Regions from separate parts of the Homo sapiens genome. Here all the other regions are linked to region 4. Evidence: promoter capture Hi-C in 16 types of primary human blood cells and fetal thymus (Javierre and others, 2016). All regions are on one chromosome and are shown on one strand. The core of a region is centred on a gene start or on the middle of the fragment in contact, and the rest is flanking DNA. Distances in the headings are between cores, read along the strand shown.

What was found. The method cuts DNA at HindIII sites, captures the fragments that hold promoters and counts their contacts. A CHiCAGO score of 5 or more calls a contact.
Region 1: a contact is called between a fragment that was not itself captured here and the fragment with the promoter of SERINC1 in region 4, in 1 of 17 cell types (activated CD4 T cells). The highest score is 5.8, in activated CD4 T cells.
Region 2: a contact is called between the fragment with the promoter of GOPC here and the fragment with the promoter of SERINC1 in region 4, in 2 of 17 cell types (non-activated CD4 T cells and total CD4 T cells). The highest score is 6.7, in non-activated CD4 T cells.
Region 3: a fragment that was not itself captured here is called in contact with the fragment with the promoter of SERINC1 in region 4 in 1 of 17 cell types (total CD4 T cells); the score reaches 6.9 in total CD4 T cells.
Region 5: a contact is called between a fragment that was not itself captured here and the fragment with the promoter of SERINC1 in region 4, in 3 of 17 cell types (non-activated CD4 T cells, fetal thymus and total B cells). The highest score is 11.9, in non-activated CD4 T cells.

The regions. Positions count from the first base shown.
Region 1 is chr6:119,072,767-119,076,069 of GRCh38, reverse strand. The region is part of intron 1 of FAM184A (family with sequence similarity 184 member A); the gene reads left to right. Among named protein-coding and RNA genes, the nearest start is that of FAM184A, 4.2 kb to the left of the region's middle. The HindIII fragment of the contact is 266 bases long and covers 1,692-1,957 here.
Region 2 is chr6:117,600,551-117,603,946 of GRCh38, reverse strand. It overlaps GOPC (golgi associated PDZ and coiled-coil motif containing), which reads left to right and starts at 1,436. Exons shown (of 9, transcript NM_020399.4): 1 at 1,436-1,943. The coding sequence starts at 1,659. It also overlaps the pseudogene NEPNP. RefSeq lists enhancers at 1,045-1,334, 1,465-1,554. The HindIII fragment of the contact is 3,398 bases long and covers 1-1,790 here.
Region 3 is chr6:125,777,530-125,780,507 of GRCh38, reverse strand. TRE-CTC1-7 (tRNA-Glu (anticodon CTC) 1-7) reads left to right here and starts at 190; the gene lies at 190-261. RefSeq lists an enhancer at 1-115 and a silencer at 70-339. The HindIII fragment of the contact is 156 bases long and covers 1,523-1,678 here.
Region 4 is chr6:122,470,405-122,473,508 of GRCh38, reverse strand. It overlaps SERINC1 (serine incorporator 1), which reads left to right and starts at 1,702. Exons shown (of 10, transcript NM_020755.4): 1 at 1,702-1,810. The coding sequence starts at 1,772. It also overlaps a transcript of PKIB not described here. RefSeq lists enhancers at 1,543-1,602, 1,653-2,052. The HindIII fragment of the contact is 8,379 bases long and covers 1-3,104 here.
Region 5 is chr6:119,350,041-119,353,292 of GRCh38, reverse strand. It overlaps a transcript of MAN1A1 not described here. Among named protein-coding and RNA genes, the nearest start is that of MAN1A1, 1.9 kb to the right of the region's middle. RefSeq lists a silencer at 2,972-3,252. The HindIII fragment of the contact is 276 bases long and covers 1,580-1,855 here.

The DNA of each region.
Region 1 (3,303 bases), core at 575-3,074, 3.4 Mb after region 4:
TTCCCAGGAGCGGGCAGGGTAGTTGAAACAGAATCATTCCAATTAAGAACCATTGACATATACTGAAATATCAAGGGATTATCCTGCTTTTATTTACTAAGATGAGGCCTGAGAATGAAACAGTTTGATAATAGGACTCTGTTGGAGCCAACATCTTTCTGTTTCTACAAACATATAAGACTTGCTTTCTTTATACACCATTTTGAAAGTTGTCAAATTTTATAGTCATATACACTTATTGTAAATACTATACCATAAGCATGACATCATGAGTGTATATAAACATAGAGAGAGAGGGACTGTTATGAACTTTACTACTGCCTGCCATATAGAATTTTTACTCATGAAGAGTTTATTCATATTAGCAGAGGTGTGTTCCAACTATGGTTGGAACTTGACAATGGCTAATATTTCATAATTGTACACTGTAAATGTAACAATTAAAATTGGATTTTATTTCTTTTGGAAAGAAGTCAGTAGAACTCAACTCTTCAGCATTATAGCAGCAGCACACTTAAGAGCAGTGTGGGAACCTGACACACTGAGTTAAAATTCTCACTCCACCACTTACTACTATTGTGACCTTGAGCAAGCCATGAAACACTGAGCCTCAGTTTCCTCATCTTTAAAATAGGGATGATAGTACCTATTTTACAGAGTTGTAGCGGCACATAGTAGGCTCTTCATTCAGGCTGTCACTCACTGAAAAGACATATACCAATATGAGTATTAATAAAATATGGATATTTTAAAAATGCTTCTCTCCTTTTAAACCATTCTGCATTTAACAGCGTTGTGTGATAGTGTACTTATTTTGAGGGTTTTCTGCTAAACTCTTTAAAAATGTATATATAGTAGTTTTTTTTCTCCTTCGAATATCAAAGTTTAAAGGTTTCACATTTATTCTGCATTGTGGTAGAATGTTCTGAAAATACATTGTGCATGTTTCAAAGGTTTGGCTGGCTATGAAAGGATAAGCATGAAAAGTAATAAAGATTATAATTTTGCCCATAGCAAAGCTCAATATATTTTTAATTAAAAAGCAGTCTTTGCTGTATGCATATTTGTTCATATCCTATTTCCTAAGAGCCTAACATAGCTGCCTTCTCATGGTAAGGAGAACACCAGTTCTTTAAGCACCTTTTATGTAAGGGAGACTTTGGAAAATGTTACAGATACAGCAGGGAGCAAGACACAGTCCCTGCCTTTTAAAGGAAGTCTAGCATATTTGGGTCACTCGTGTCAAGTTTTAAGAATTAATATTAGATTCTTGAGCTACATTATGGCAAGTTTCTGCAAATGTTAATGGCTGAACTATCTCAAGATAGGCAGTGAAGCTGGATGGATTCAATTATGTTTTATAAGACCACATTTGTATACTTCTGTGCTCTCCACTGTGTTGACTTTTCAGGATATCAGGTTGAAAAGCAGGCCTTGTGGGATGTAATTATAAAAGCTTTTTTTTTGTCACTTTCAAATTACTTTTTTTCCCTTTTTGTCTCTTTCAATTTACTCTTTGAGACTGGTTCATCCTCTTTCATGGGTTAACTTAATTTTTCTGGTTGCTTTTAGATAATACAAATCATCCTTCAGTAACAAAGTCACAAAAGTCTCAATTTGATTATTAAAATTAAAATGCCCAGTACCAACAAGTAAAAACTGCAGACCAAGCCTGAAATAAAGATGAAGCTTCTCCCTTAACTGGTCTCTTGCTCTGTCTCTTGCAAGGGGGAAACCAGTAACTAGGGAAGGGGGTATTATTGCCTTTTTACTTCTTACCTGGTTTTTCTACTCTTCCTGCTTTGTCTTGCCAGTTCTGGTTTCTCACCCTTCCAAAGTTGGTCAAGGAAGAAGTGAAAAGAGTAAAGAGGAGCAGCAAACTTTTACTTGATTAGTGAAGAAGCTAGCTGGTGATCTAGTTTCAGTGCTTTTGTAGCCGTTGCAGATGTTTAAAGCTTATTCTTTCACTGGTGAATCTTCTACCTCCCACCTCAGTGGCTCTAGATTTTCACCTCAATTCCTTGACAGTGAGAATTCCCTTATGCGCTGATTGGTTGCTTACTCCTTCCTCAGCCTCTTGGAGCTAGCAGTACCTTCACCTCCACTTTGCTGAGGTCTGTGCAAACTCTAGATACCCCTCTTGCATGGACTTGTGTGATCCCACCCCAGGTTGTTCACTCTTCCGTAGAGGCCACATAGGGAGCACTCATTCTTTGCACAAACTCTGCTAGTGGTCCCAGTTCAGCCCTCTCTCTTGTTCTCACATGCCTCTTCATGCAGCTTCTCATCATTTAGATTTTCTGGGGATTAATCAGGTACCAGGTTAGCATGTTCTTCAAAGTGCTTGAGGCACATGTCAAGTTCTTCAAGTCATTCCCTCAAAGCCTTTTTCCCTAGGCTTTAGGTGTGGGACAAGCATCTTCCACCCTTCCCCCTTGAAGACACAGGCCCCTGTTACCACAGCTCTCCCCAGGGAAATCTCTGAAACCTACTCTGTAATCTTCTTGAAGCACCACCTCACTAGTGGTGGGGGTGGAAAGTAACACATCTCAGCACTCTTCTTTAGACTGCCTCTTGACATTTTCGAGAATGTTCTGGCAGCTGCTTTGGAATGTCATTTCTATCGTCTCTGGTTCTCAGCAGAAACTTCCCTTTTAATACCTTGTTATGTTAGCTGCTTATCAAATCCCTCTTTAGTTGATTGCACTTTTGATACAGAGTCTGTTTATCACTTAACTAGTATAGACATAAGTAATATATGGTACAGTGTAAGTTCCCAAACAGCAGGAAGTAGTTTATTTTGTGTTTTCTGTGCTTAGCATCAAGTCCTCTTATTTAATACCCAGCTTATGGCTCTTCTACTAAAACTGTCCTGACCAGCTACCCTTGTTGGGCTTTCCTTGCTGTGCGTTAGCATTGATTGTTGGTACCTCTTACTTGATACTTAATAATGCAAACTTGCAAATACTGTTTATTGTGTTTATAAATATACTTTGTTTTCATAATTTGACTGTAAGGTTCTCAGCTCTAGGGACTGTATCTTTTATTACATGTAACCTTAATATGAATGGTTTGCACATAGTACCAAAGCTTAATAAGTATTTACTGAAGAAGATGGTGGTCATAATGATACAGCAAGTAATTTTGTTATACAGCAGAGAAAGACAGTACTTTTTAGGAATTGTATCTGCTACTCTTCTGGGTTAATGATAGATCATTTCAGCTGAGTTAAATTATTCCTAAATATGTAAATGTTTATTGACTGCCCTTTAAACTGCTTCAAAAAGCTATTTTATTTCTTAA
Region 2 (3,396 bases), core at 187-2,686, 4.9 Mb after region 4:
TATGCTTCTAGGTAATGCAGGAGTTTCCACCAGCCTACTCTAATCACACAGGTTTCTCTTTCCCTTTCTAGGACTGTCTACCCTTGAACTGGAAGTAGGCAGAATGTAAAGAGAGGAGTTGCTGGATACTTTTAAAGGCACTGAAAAATTCAAGTTAAAGTTATAGTTGAGGGGTAGTAGCCTCACTAGCCTATCTTGAGTAAGGGTCATGTCTCATTCATTTTTGTGTCTTCAATGTCGCAACAGAGCTCTGCATTCAATATATTTGTAAATATATGAATTCACAATTTTGATTTTCTGAAATGTCACGTGTGAGGACACTACCAGTTTTCAAATAAATACACCTTTTAAAGTACAGTTATGTGCCAAATAACAAGGCTTCAGCAATGAATGGATCGCATAAACTATGGTGATCCTATAAGAGTATATGACTGTACCTTTTCTATGTTTAGATATGTTTAAGTACACAAATAGTTACCACTGTGTTATAATCGCCTACCGTATCCAGAATGGCAACATGCTGTACAGGTTTACAGCCTAAGAGCAATAGGCTACATCATATAGCCTGGGTGTGTAGTAGGCTATACTATCTAGGTTTGTGTTTAAATACACTCTAGGATGTTCCCTAAGGGATGATTAACCTAAGGACACATTCCTAAGAACATATCCCCATCTTAAGTGAAGCACTACTGTAGTTGCTTTTGAAATGTGTGACCTATGGTGTATTAAGAGGAATACCGTGTGCCAAGAAGTGACGCTAAGCGTTTTACCTTACAACTGAGTTAAGTAAAATTTGGAAACTTGGTTTCGAGGTTAATACATGAAAGGCGACACAGGTAGTATGTGACAGAGGGTAAGAATTGAATCCAGGTCTACCTGACTCTTAATCACAAGACAAAAAGTCTTCTATTAATTCCGCAAAATCTGGTCAGCCGCTTCAATGCGCAGCTTTAGGCAGTCCACACCTGGAATTTGGGGTCTGGTTTACCAAGAACAGCCAGTGTGTACACCCACTCCATCCTATCCAGGAACTGGAATCGAGAAGGTAAAAACGTGGCTATTGCGCATGCTCACACCGCCCTTCCTTGCTCTCCCCTCCCTGACCCTAGATGCCACCGCAGCAACTTTCTGGGAGGATTTTGGAACGGCTCCCGCCAACTGTTAAGTCAAACCGGCGGAAATCCTTCCTTTCTGCGACGTGGACACCTTTCTCATCCTCGGGCCTTTCCAACCAGGGTGCAGAAACCACGCGCCTCCGTTTCTCAGGGATTCAAGCCGTAGTTTGCCAGTTGTTAATATGGCCGCTGACAGGCCGCTCCCAAGCTGAGGCCTTTCATAGGCCAAGATCGCATCCTGTCCCCGCCTATTTTGTCCCTCGTGGCTGCGTCCGCCCAGCTCTTCGCTACGCATGCGCAGCGGGGGCAGGCTGGGAGGTGGGACTGACTGAGTCTTCCGTGTGTCGCCGCCGTTGCCGCCTCAGCTTCAGCCTCGTTACTCCTGCGGTTCTGTGACTGTGCTGCTGGCGTTAACGGCGCGAGGTGAAGGGAGGTGACGGAGTGTGCCCGCGCGCGCGGGGGTCCCCTCAGTCCCAGCAGTTCCCTTCGTGCGCGGGGGGCGGCGAGGGTCTTCAGCAGTCGGGAGAGGCCCTTGACGGCGCCATGTCGGCGGGCGGTCCATGCCCAGCAGCAGCCGGAGGGGGCCCAGGGGGCGCCTCCTGCTCCGTGGGGGCCCCTGGCGGGGTATCCATGTTCCGGTGGCTGGAGGTGCTGGAGAAGGAGTTCGACAAAGCTTTTGTGGATGTGGATCTGCTCCTGGGAGAGATCGATCCAGACCAAGCGGACATCACTTATGAGGGGCGACAGAAGATGACCAGCCTGAGCTCCTGCTTTGCACAGCTTTGCCACAAAGCCCAGTCTGTGTCTCAAATCAACCACAAGCTGGAGGTGAGCCGTGGGTGCTGGCGGCTATGGCATCCAACCCCAGGCTGCCCGGTGGCGTCAGATGCCATTTAACGCTCCAGTGAAACGACCCTAGAAAACTGCCCACCGGGGCTTCAAATGTGATGGGAGAGTGCATGTCTGAGGAGTGAGGTGAGGGTGGGGGACAAAAAGGGCCCTAGACCGACGTGTGAGTTCCCGGGGTACTGTCGTCCACCTTCCTAGTATCTCTCTGAGGAGGAAACTAATTACATACACCAGCCTCCATTGCACATGTTACATTAACAAACCTAACAAAGATTCTCTGTCATGAAAATACCGTAGGCCACCTTTTGACAACTGAGTTTTGCAGATCTGCTTTCACATTGATAAACCGAATTTGTATATGTTAAGACAGATACAGCACTGATTATTTTCATTTTAATTATTCCAGGTCAGCGCCTATGATTGCATACAGAGACATGCATAAACTATTTAGGGGAATCTGATCAAAGCTCTTAGGAAAATTTCGTGGTGCATAACGATAGTATCACTGTCTCGGTTTACATCCATAGTTGGTTGTTAAATTACAGGCAGATACCTCCAGAGAGCTCCCTGCAATTATTGAAATTACTTCTGACCTTGAGTTTTTATATGCTTGTACATTACTGTGTAATTTTCCAAAGTCTGGATTTATTTTTGAGAGAGTGTAAAGAATCATTTGCTTTAATCTCTGATCCTGGGTGTGGGTGAGGGTGGAGTGGCTGTGGTTCAAAAAAACAAAAATATCATATTGTGCAGAAAATTTAAAAAGGACATTATTAAAATATTTAGAAATCAAGATAGATTAACATTATTGCATAAAGAGTACTTTCTAACTAGGCAATTTAAGAGAATGGGTCTTTCTTTTCAAAAAGTGTAATAGATAAAAATGGGATAATCAGTGATGTGCAAAACTCTGAACATGCTTTCCTAAGAAATCATCATTACTCGTTGTCATTGACAGTGCCCATTATATCTATATCAATATGAATGTCAGTTAAACATCCTCTCCTTGCCTAGTGGTCAGCATTCTTTCTCTCCTATTAGCCATGAAATATGTGGCATAATTAATCTTTGATTAACATAGATTTACATATCCAAGAATTGTGGCTCTTCTCCACTGCGAGAACTGTTAATTTCTTCTATCCTTTTTGAAAAGATTAGAAAGTGCTAATATGAAGGTAATCACTTCTTACTGTAGGTAAATGAAAACATCTCTTGATTTCTTTATTGGTAGTAATTTCCACAAGAAAGCTATTTTTCTCAGATAGTGAAATTGCATTTAATGTTTTCTAGAAATAGTACTTTAACTTTATTTCATCTTATTTTATCTTATTATATTTTTTTCAAAAAAGAGATGGAGTGCTTTGTTGCCCAGTTTGGTCTTGAATTCCTGGCCTCAGGTGATCCTCCTGCCTTGGCCTCCCAAAGTGCTTTG
Region 3 (2,978 bases), core at 351-2,850, 3.3 Mb before region 4:
CCTTAAGGGGCCATCCCGGCGCTTCCGAGAATTTGCTTCAATTTCAGGAAATAGATTCAGGGACCAGGACTCAGAACAAGAACAAAGTGGGTGTGGCTTAGACGCAATACTCTATCCCCTACTGGTTAGAGGAATTAAGTGCAGATTTTTAACACAACAAATATATTTAGGAAGAAGCGTTGTGCAAGTTCCCTGGTGGTCTAGTGGTTAGGATTCGGCGCTCTCACCGCCGCGGCCCGGGTTCGATTCCCGGTCAGGGAAGTCTTGTTTTTCTTGACATTCGTATCCTTCATGCAATTTAGAAGTCAAGAGTTTTGTGTAGTTTTCACTTGCTGGTTGGGTTTTTTTTTCATAGTTTTTTTTTTTCTTTATAGTTTTTTTTTTCTTTTTAAATCATAAGTTTTATGTACTTTTCATTCGCTTGTTGGGGTTTTTTAATCATTAAAAATTGACCGTTTTAAAAGTTTATTTAATCTAAGGCTTAAAATACGCCATCTCTATTTACAGGTAATGTAATTTATAATCAATCAAATAACATAAAGTTCTGTGATTCTAAAATTGTATTTTTCAGTTTTTAAAAATAATTTGGATGTGTTTACAAGCAGTCAGTTAAGCCTTTGTTTAACCTTGATTTTGTTTGACTAATAAAAGAGGAAGATAGTTTTATGAGGAATAATACTTATTCAGTATCATGCTTAGAGTTAATTTTTAGTTTTTCTGTACATTAAGATTATGTACTTTGGAGATTATTTGCCTATATTGGAGCTATTCCTACTCTCATCTCTATAAATATGAGATCTTTTCTGAGATGTATGGTTGGACATAGCTAGTTTATTGTGTTTTAATAACCCATTTAGTTAATGTTTTTTTGGCTAACTTTAAATTTTCTCTAAGAGATTTACACAAATATGGTAAATGTGTTACATCCAGAGTATCAATTCCCACTATATAAACCATATAGGCCCCTCAAAAATGCACCTACTTATCATTAGTAATTCCCACATTCAGGGTAAAGTAGAATTCTGGGAGTTCCTCAAAGGAAAATATGGCAATGTTGGAGTCAAAAAAAGAAAAATAGTGTTATATAGACATTAAGGGTTTTTTTGATCCTGAAAGTTCTAAACCATCCTAACCTTTGCCACTTACTGAGCTGTTGGATTTTTTTTTTTTTTTTTTTAATTTGAGACGGAGTCTCTCTCTGTCGCCCAGGCTGGAGTGCAGTGGCGCGATCTTGGCTCACTGCAAGCTCCGCCTCCCGGGTTCATGCCATTCTCATGCCTCAGCCTCCCGAGTAGCTGGGACTACAGGCGCCCGCCACCAGGCCCGGCTATTTTTTTTTTGTATTTTTTGTAGAGACGGGGCTTCACCGTGTTAGCCAGGATGATCTCGATCTCCTGACCTCGTGATCCTCCTGTCTTGGCCTCCCAAAGTGCTGGGATTACAGGCGTGAGCCACCGCGCCCGGCCCCGCCTTTTTTTTTTAAGGAGAAATTTCATCATAGCATAGAAACAGACTGAAAGCTTGATTGCAACTAAAATGAGTTTGTTTTGCTCTCCTTTTAGCTGTGCTGAGACTGATTGGGAAGAGGAGAATGCTGAGTACTTAATGTTCCAGGAAGTCCATTGTGATAGGTGCCATGGGGTTAAGAAAAGATGTGATTTTTGGTGCTTAAGAAGCTTTCACTTCATTGGATAATTAAGACAAAAATATGTTGCCACCATTAACAAAAATAATTGGCACCATTCATTGATTATTTGCTGCATATCAAGTACTTCAAATAATCACGATATATGGTAAAAGAAGGGAGAAGGAAGTGAGCACTAGAATCAAAATAGAGCTTGAAAACTGTTTTTCAAGCTGGACCTAAAGGCTAGAAGTATCCGGAATGCCTGAGAAAAGGAGAATGGACATTGCTTCTAAGGGATCCAGGATGACCATGGTCTAGTATTTGCAACGAAAAGGACTAACTGTGTCAGACTGGCTGTAGTAGGGAACCTGCGCTGGGGAACAGTGGAGATGAGGGCAGATAGGTGACTGCAGCTAGATTATGGAAGACCTTAAGACAAGTCAAGAAATTACGAAGGGAACCCAAGAGGACTCGATGTCTGATAGGATATAAAGGGTTAAGAATAGGGAGGAATCAGTTATGAATCCTTGATTTGTTCTGTGTGGCTAGTAAAACTGGGGTGGCATTAAAAGTAATAGGAAGGTTGAGATGGAGAAACTGATGAAGAAGAGAAGGTAAGTTCAGTTTGAGCCCCACAGAGGCAGCACAACTAAATGTGGTTGGAAATACAGAATGGGAATTTTGGTGATAATTAGGGTAGAAGGGAGAGATTTTGGAGCCATTAACTTAAAAGTTTGAGAAGATTTGAGCTCTTCCCAAAGAAAAAACCTATAAAAAGGAGAGAGGACCAAGGAAAAAACCCAGGAGAGTATACATTAAAGAAGAAGGGGAAGAGGTAGAAAATGGTGAAAGAGTAGTCAGAGAGGGGCCGGGCGCGGTGGCTCACGCCTGTAATCCCAGCACTTTGGGAGGCCGAAACGGGAGGATCATGAGGTCAGGAGATCGAGACCATCCTGGCTAACACGGTGAAACCCCGTCTCTACTAAAAAAAATACATAGCCCTTGTGGTGGTGGGCGCCTGTAGTCCCAGCTACTTGGGAGGCTGAGGCAGGATAATGGCGTGAACGTGGGAGGCGGAGCTTGCAGTGAGCCAAGAAGATCGCACCACTGACCTCCAGCCTGGGCGACAGAGAGACTCTGTCTCAAAAAAAAAAAAAAAAAAAAAAAAAAGGAAGAGTAGTCAGAGAGGTAGTAATAAAAGGATAAGAGAGCTTCAAGAAGGAAGTAGCGGTGAAGAAAAGAGCATACTGTAAAGAGATCAAGGAGAAAACGGAGGAGATTAAGCACAGTCAGATGGTAAGACAGTGACTGTTGGGTACAGAACAGACTGGTGGAGCCCATACCACAGTAA
Region 4 (3,104 bases), core at 453-2,952:
GTAAATTTTTTTTAATGTATTTCAAGGCCAAGTGTTACATTCCAGAAAGATTAATATGACTTTTGTATTTAACTCTGAATATCTCAGGTGAAAAAACTCTATTGAATAGTGCAAGAACTTATGAATATCTCAGAAACCCTCTTAAATGGAGCAAGAGACAAGAATCTGTGCAAATTTAAATTTTAAGAGACCCATTCTCCATTTGGCTAATAAACATATTCTTTACGACCTTAAAGTTACTCACATATAAGTGTTTTTTGTCTCCTTCTCTGGTACTTTGAAAAGTTTAAGGACTTGAGATACTAGGATTCTCTTCTCCCATAAATAACGTATTAAGTTTAGCATAATTAAAAATATTGTTAGGTTTGTAATTTCCATTTCCACTATTCTTTTTTTTTGAGACGGAGTCTCGCTCTGCAGCCCAGGCTGGAGTGCAGTGGCCCAATCTCGGCTCACTGCAACCTCTGCCTCCCGGGTTCAAGCAGTTCTCCTGCCTCGCCTCCCGAGTAGCTGGGATTACATGCGCGTGCCACCATGCCCGGCTAATTTTTTGTATTTTTAGTAGAGATGGGGTTTCACCATGCTGGCCAGGCTGGTCTTGAACTCCTGGCCTTGTGACCCGCCTGCCTCAGCCTCCCAAAGTTCTGGGATTACAAGCATTTCCACAATTCTTTAAACCTTATGGATGCTCTATTATAATACTTTGCTTTAAGAGTGGTCTACAAAACCACAGATAAGGCAAAGAAGAATAAAGCAAGATTGTCCCTTAGTGGTTACAATAACTAGGAGTAGGGATTCTGACATTCTTCCAGATTCTTAGGTGTTTACCCCACCTCGACCCATGCAATTTTTGTAGATTTTACAACACTTTCTTATTATTAGTTATGGGAATGACTATTTCAAGTTTGAGCTGTTTCCCAGAATATTTTCAAGAACAAATAACTCTAAAAAAATAACTGGAACTTTTATAGGAATGCATTCCCTGCAGATGTGCATCATCACCTAATATGCAAGGGTTCCACATGCCTCAACAGCTCATGACATTCGAAATCAATGTTTGAGTTTGATAATGTCTTATCTAACTAATTAAAAATAATTTTAACGTGCAAATTTCTTGTAACATCTTAATAGCATAAGAAATTAAAATATAAGTCAATAGCAAACAGAAATGATACAGAGAAACTGAAGCACACAGATGAATATAAATATCCCAATAAAACTTGTTCCGGGCAGCGGGCTGCAGGAATACGTTGCAAACGCAAGAGCAAAACAGGATGCAAACGTGGGAAAAATGGGAAATAAGTGGAGTTAGGACGGACAAAGACTGAGAAAGAGGAAGCAATCCCCTAAAAAGCAGAGAGGTTCCTCAGATGAAGGAGGGCAAAACGTCAACCACCACCTCAGCTCTGTTCTCTACTAATGCCCAAATGCAAGTGCATGGTAGGTAAAGGTGGGTTTTGCTCACACCGTTTTCTTAATTTGGCAAACTACGGTCAGATCCACATTAGCCGTTAAGTTTCCAGCCAGCAGTCCTTGAGAAATTCTCCAGGAAAGAAGACAGCCGTGTCGTCTAGTGACGCGCATGCGCAGTCTCAGCGCTGCGCGCTCCGTGTTTTATCCTACCCAGGCCTGGAAGGAAGTGACGCGAGGCTGAGGGGCGGGTTGCGCTGTGCGTCCGGAAGTGTCTCGCAGATAGTAAATAATCTCGGAAAGGCGAGAAAGAAGCTGTCTCCATCTTGTCTGTATCCGCTGCTCTTGTGACGTTGTGGAGATGGGGAGCGTCCTGGGGCTGTGCTCCATGGCGAGCTGGGTAAGGTGCTTTTTGCGGCCTCTGGGGTGCTAGTGTGAGAGACCAAAGAGAAGGCGATCCGAGCCGGGGCTGGGTGAGCCCGGCGGGAATGTGGTGCCCCACCCAACAGGGAGTGCCCTCTCTGTCCCCGTTTTCTTCCCGTCTCCTCTCGTCACTCAGACTCAGCTTCAGAGCTTTGGGTCTTGCGAAGAACTGATCACTGGCCGTAAGGTTTAGTGGCGATGGGAAGATGACTCAAATTGAGGAAGAGAACTAGAATAGGGCCCCTCCCCCACCCCTGCTTCGTGAACGCTGTCTCCCATTCTTTGAGGTCCCTTTTCGTGGTTTTGTTTGTATCTGCGCAGGCCATCTCTACAAAGGTCTTTGCCCCTTTCCTTCGGTGGGGTACCCACTCTGTTGTCATCTCTTTCCTGGCGACCTCAGACTGCCGCACTGTCGTTCCTGGATTCATGTCGCCCTCTTTGTTCAGTGGCGCAGATTATGATTAAAAAGTGCCTGTCGTCATTTGGAACCGCCTGGCAGTAATGCTAATGTAGTAATATTGTTTTTGAAACAAATAGTCATAGCTCTGCCGTAACTGTTTGAAGTGTCAATTTCAGATTTCAACTTAAAATTGAAATTTCAGATGACACACGCATGCCTTGTGCCTAATGACAATTTTGTCTTTAGGCACAAAACATGCGTGTGTCATCTGAAATTTCATGCTTAATTAGCTGTACATTGCATTTTCATTAAAGAGTTGTTAGAGTAAAACTATTTTCAGTATAGTGGCAAGACTTTGGTCCGTGTGGCACAAATTTCAGTTTATTTAAGATAATCTCTGCCCCCTCCAAAATAGTAGGCAAAACATTGGCAGTGCAGTTAATAAAGATATTTGTAATTTTAGGCGAGGTATTTGGACTCAAATCACTTTTCTTTAGTCTGGAATTTGTTAATTCTGTTTCTAACAATTGCTTTTCTGACTTCCCAAATGATTCCGTTATATATACTCTTAAAGGTTTTGATATGTCTTGAACTAAAAATGTTGAATTTTAATCAAATAATAATGTGGGGATTGTTACTCCAGCCAGTCTGTTCTTTTGATTATATGGTATTTCTTCTTGCACGGAAGCCTGGAATATTTTATCTCAAGATATTAGAGAGTTTAATTATTGACTTTTATACAAAAGAGGCATATTTAGTGTGATAAACAGTTTTGAAAACTGATAATTGATTATCATATAAGATTGTTTTCATCGGTTTTTTATTGGAAGATGTTATGCAATTCAATTTGTAATGTCGTATCTTGTCCAGT
Region 5 (3,252 bases), core at 468-2,967, 3.1 Mb after region 4:
GCACCCACGCCCCCTCAAAAAAATGTGATTGGAATTCTATAAAAATAATCTGCCACTCAGGCAGTTCCAAAGTAAATTGAGGAAGAGCAAAAACATGGAATCAGAAATATAACAGTAGACTCCAATTTGCATACAAATAACACCGATAGTTTCCTTTAAAACTCTGGTTAATTTCCACCTTAATATATCTCATGTAAAATTGAGAGTGCCCATTGAAGTATTGAAACTTCAAGATTAATATTCACAATGAATCATTTTTTACGTATTACATTTGGATTTTTTAAAAAATAAGAGCAAAGACCTATTGTGACCTAGAAAATCTCCCATTAAAAGATTTTATCAGAAATCTAACTTGTTGGAGAATTTCAGTCATTATTTACTGTACATGTAGATTAAATTCATTTCTTTCACTAGATTAAGTTTTATTTAAAGTAAGAGAACAAAAATCCTCAAAAGGATTCTTCCACAAACTTCTAACTAGTACTGCCTAGAAACTTCCTAAGAAATGTTTTTGCACTTCAATTTTTGAGAACTTATAATTTTATAAAAATATAAATTTATCAGTTTTATAAAAATATTGCCAATTTTTCCTCTGTAAGTCTGCTCATAATTATTACTATATTTCATTTTAGGCATGTTAATGTAAAAATTAAATCTACCTTTTGGTAATTTCTTTTGAAAGTAGAAAAATCTAAGCAACAACATTTATTTGGGGATTTCTTTGTAGTGTTTTGTGGTATCACTGATGATCAGGTTTTTAAAAAATTACTTGATTCAAAGATATAATCTTGAAACACAAAAATTTACAAATTATCAAAGAAATACACAAAAACATTAAGTATTGAAAAAGGAAAATGTAAGAATTAAGTTTGCAAGCAAACCTGCAAAAATTACAAGAGAGTTATACTTCAAAAGGACTGGCTGGCCAAATAAAAAAACATAGCAAGTATTTTTTTAAAAATCCCACAAAATTACTAAGGTTCTTAGGTTTACATTAGACCATCCATAATGAGAAACAGCAATTTCAGCACTATCATTGCATTCATAAAGATGGTGACATTACCTTCAGGTAGATGTGGCTAGGGAGTCTTGACTTAGGGGACAAAGTCAAGGTTTCATTACTTAAAAGACAAGAACCAATCACCTTTATTTTTATCTCAGGGTACAAAGTACTTTTTTCAATGGTAGAATGTCAAGTGCTTTGTAGTACTGAAATCAGAGGAAAGTGTCCGATTTTGCTTCTACAAAATGCACAATTTTACTTGTTGACTATTTTCTACTCCTCCCTTACCATGAGCACACAGGGCTTCATGTGATTATTTTAAAGAGGATGCATAATTCGATTGCTATGCCTCTTCAGATACCTTCTTTGTGAATTTTTCAAATTTGCTCTGGCCCAAATATTGGTGTTCCTATATAGTTCTTATCCCACCTAATGTACACAGACACCCTTTAATATGTACCTATAATCAACCACCCATGTTAACTTCTTGTTTAACATATTATCAAAGCCAGGCTGCAAGTATAACCCTGTCATTTAAGAAATACGGAAAATAAGAAAAAAATCTTAAAATAAGCTTCATGATGAACTTAAAAAGAATAGTTACTTTAAAAGATGTAGAAACAACATAGATAAATTTAAAGTTTTTAGGGGAAAAAATCCTTAAACCCACGTACTAAATTTTTAATATTTCCACTACAGAAGTTAAATGCCCAAACTGATTTGGTATCAAAATTAAAGTGTCAGAAATAGAATTAAGTTATAACTTTTATTTATCACCATTTTAACATATACTTAAAAGTGGAATTTATTGTTTTGCTGGAATACTTAATAACATTAATTTGAAATAAAGCTTCTAAATATTTCCGGGGCTATAATTCCATTCTTACAACATAATTTTTAAAATAATAAATCATTCCAAAAAAGGATGATCATAAAGAGATTAGCGTTTGGGGTAGTTAACCCAGTTCCTATTTATCTATCCATTCAAGAGGTAACTCAGTTTTAAGGATGTTGTTAGAAACATTATTTCACAGTGATTCAAACCTTTCAGCCTATGCACAACCTACAAATGCATAATCGTTTGAAATAAAAATTGCCTTTCCATCATTAAAGAAAAATCATCTTTGTTTTCTTTTTCAGTCCTTCTGAACTTATTACCCTGCTTGGATATGCTGCACTCTTCTGGACATAGAATTTCATAGCAGGTATCAAAATAACCAAGCCATAAAGCCAGCTTTATCAAACAATAATTTCCTATTAACAAGAACTTTGAGTGTATTACTCATTTTACACAAAACAAGTAGACGACAAATAATGATGGTTAAAATTAATAATTAAATGATTAAATGAAAACTAGTAAGGATTTCTGATTACTTTTCTACTTTCTCATACAGCTTAACACCTGGAAACAACTGTACTGGAGCCACCTTCCCGAAAGGTGCCAGCTGTTTCCTTTGTCTTAAGCACAAACAGAACTAATGTCACATTTCCAGAGAAGGGTAAGGATGAAATAAGGCGACTACAAACCAGCTTTCAGAAATGCGAAGTCAGTCAACGTTTTCCTCTCTGATAACCCCTTATTTGTGGAGCAACAGGAGAATTACAACACATTTTGGAAAATAATTTCTATTGGACCAACTCCTCACTTCGCTGGAAGTAGTCGGATCCAAGACTTAATTTCAACACAGTGTTCGACTTATTGCTTGAAGCTACCGCAGCATAAAACTCGTCTTCGAATGGAAAATTTGACCAACTTCTATGAGGTAAATGAATAGTGAAAGTACGGGTGGGCGGGAGAGACATACAAGTTTTTTCGGTTTTTTGTTTTTTGGGGGAAGAAAGGGCGCATACGAAAAAAGTCCTAAGCAAGCACAGAACTGTGTCTCTTAGGATGTAAAAGGATGTTATACCAGAGAGCTCAAAAGCTCCCAGGGTCACGGCTCCCCTAACCGAGGGACTTGGGGTTTCACTGCTACCAGGCACCCGGGGAACCCCGGCCTTGGATAAAAAGAGGGTAACTGGAGTAAAGCCGTGCTTCTGAACGACCCAGCGCCCAGGACCCCCTGCCAGACCCCGCCTTTCCCGGGACCCCCTCGGGAGCGCCCCCGACCGCCCCGCACGGGTCGGAGGAGGAGGCAGAGAGGTCCCGCGCGGACCCAGGCGCCTCCCGGGCCAGTCGAGGATCAACCACCCCGGGGACCCCTGCCGAGGCCAGCGCAGGATAAACTCCCCGACCCCGAACTCTGCCT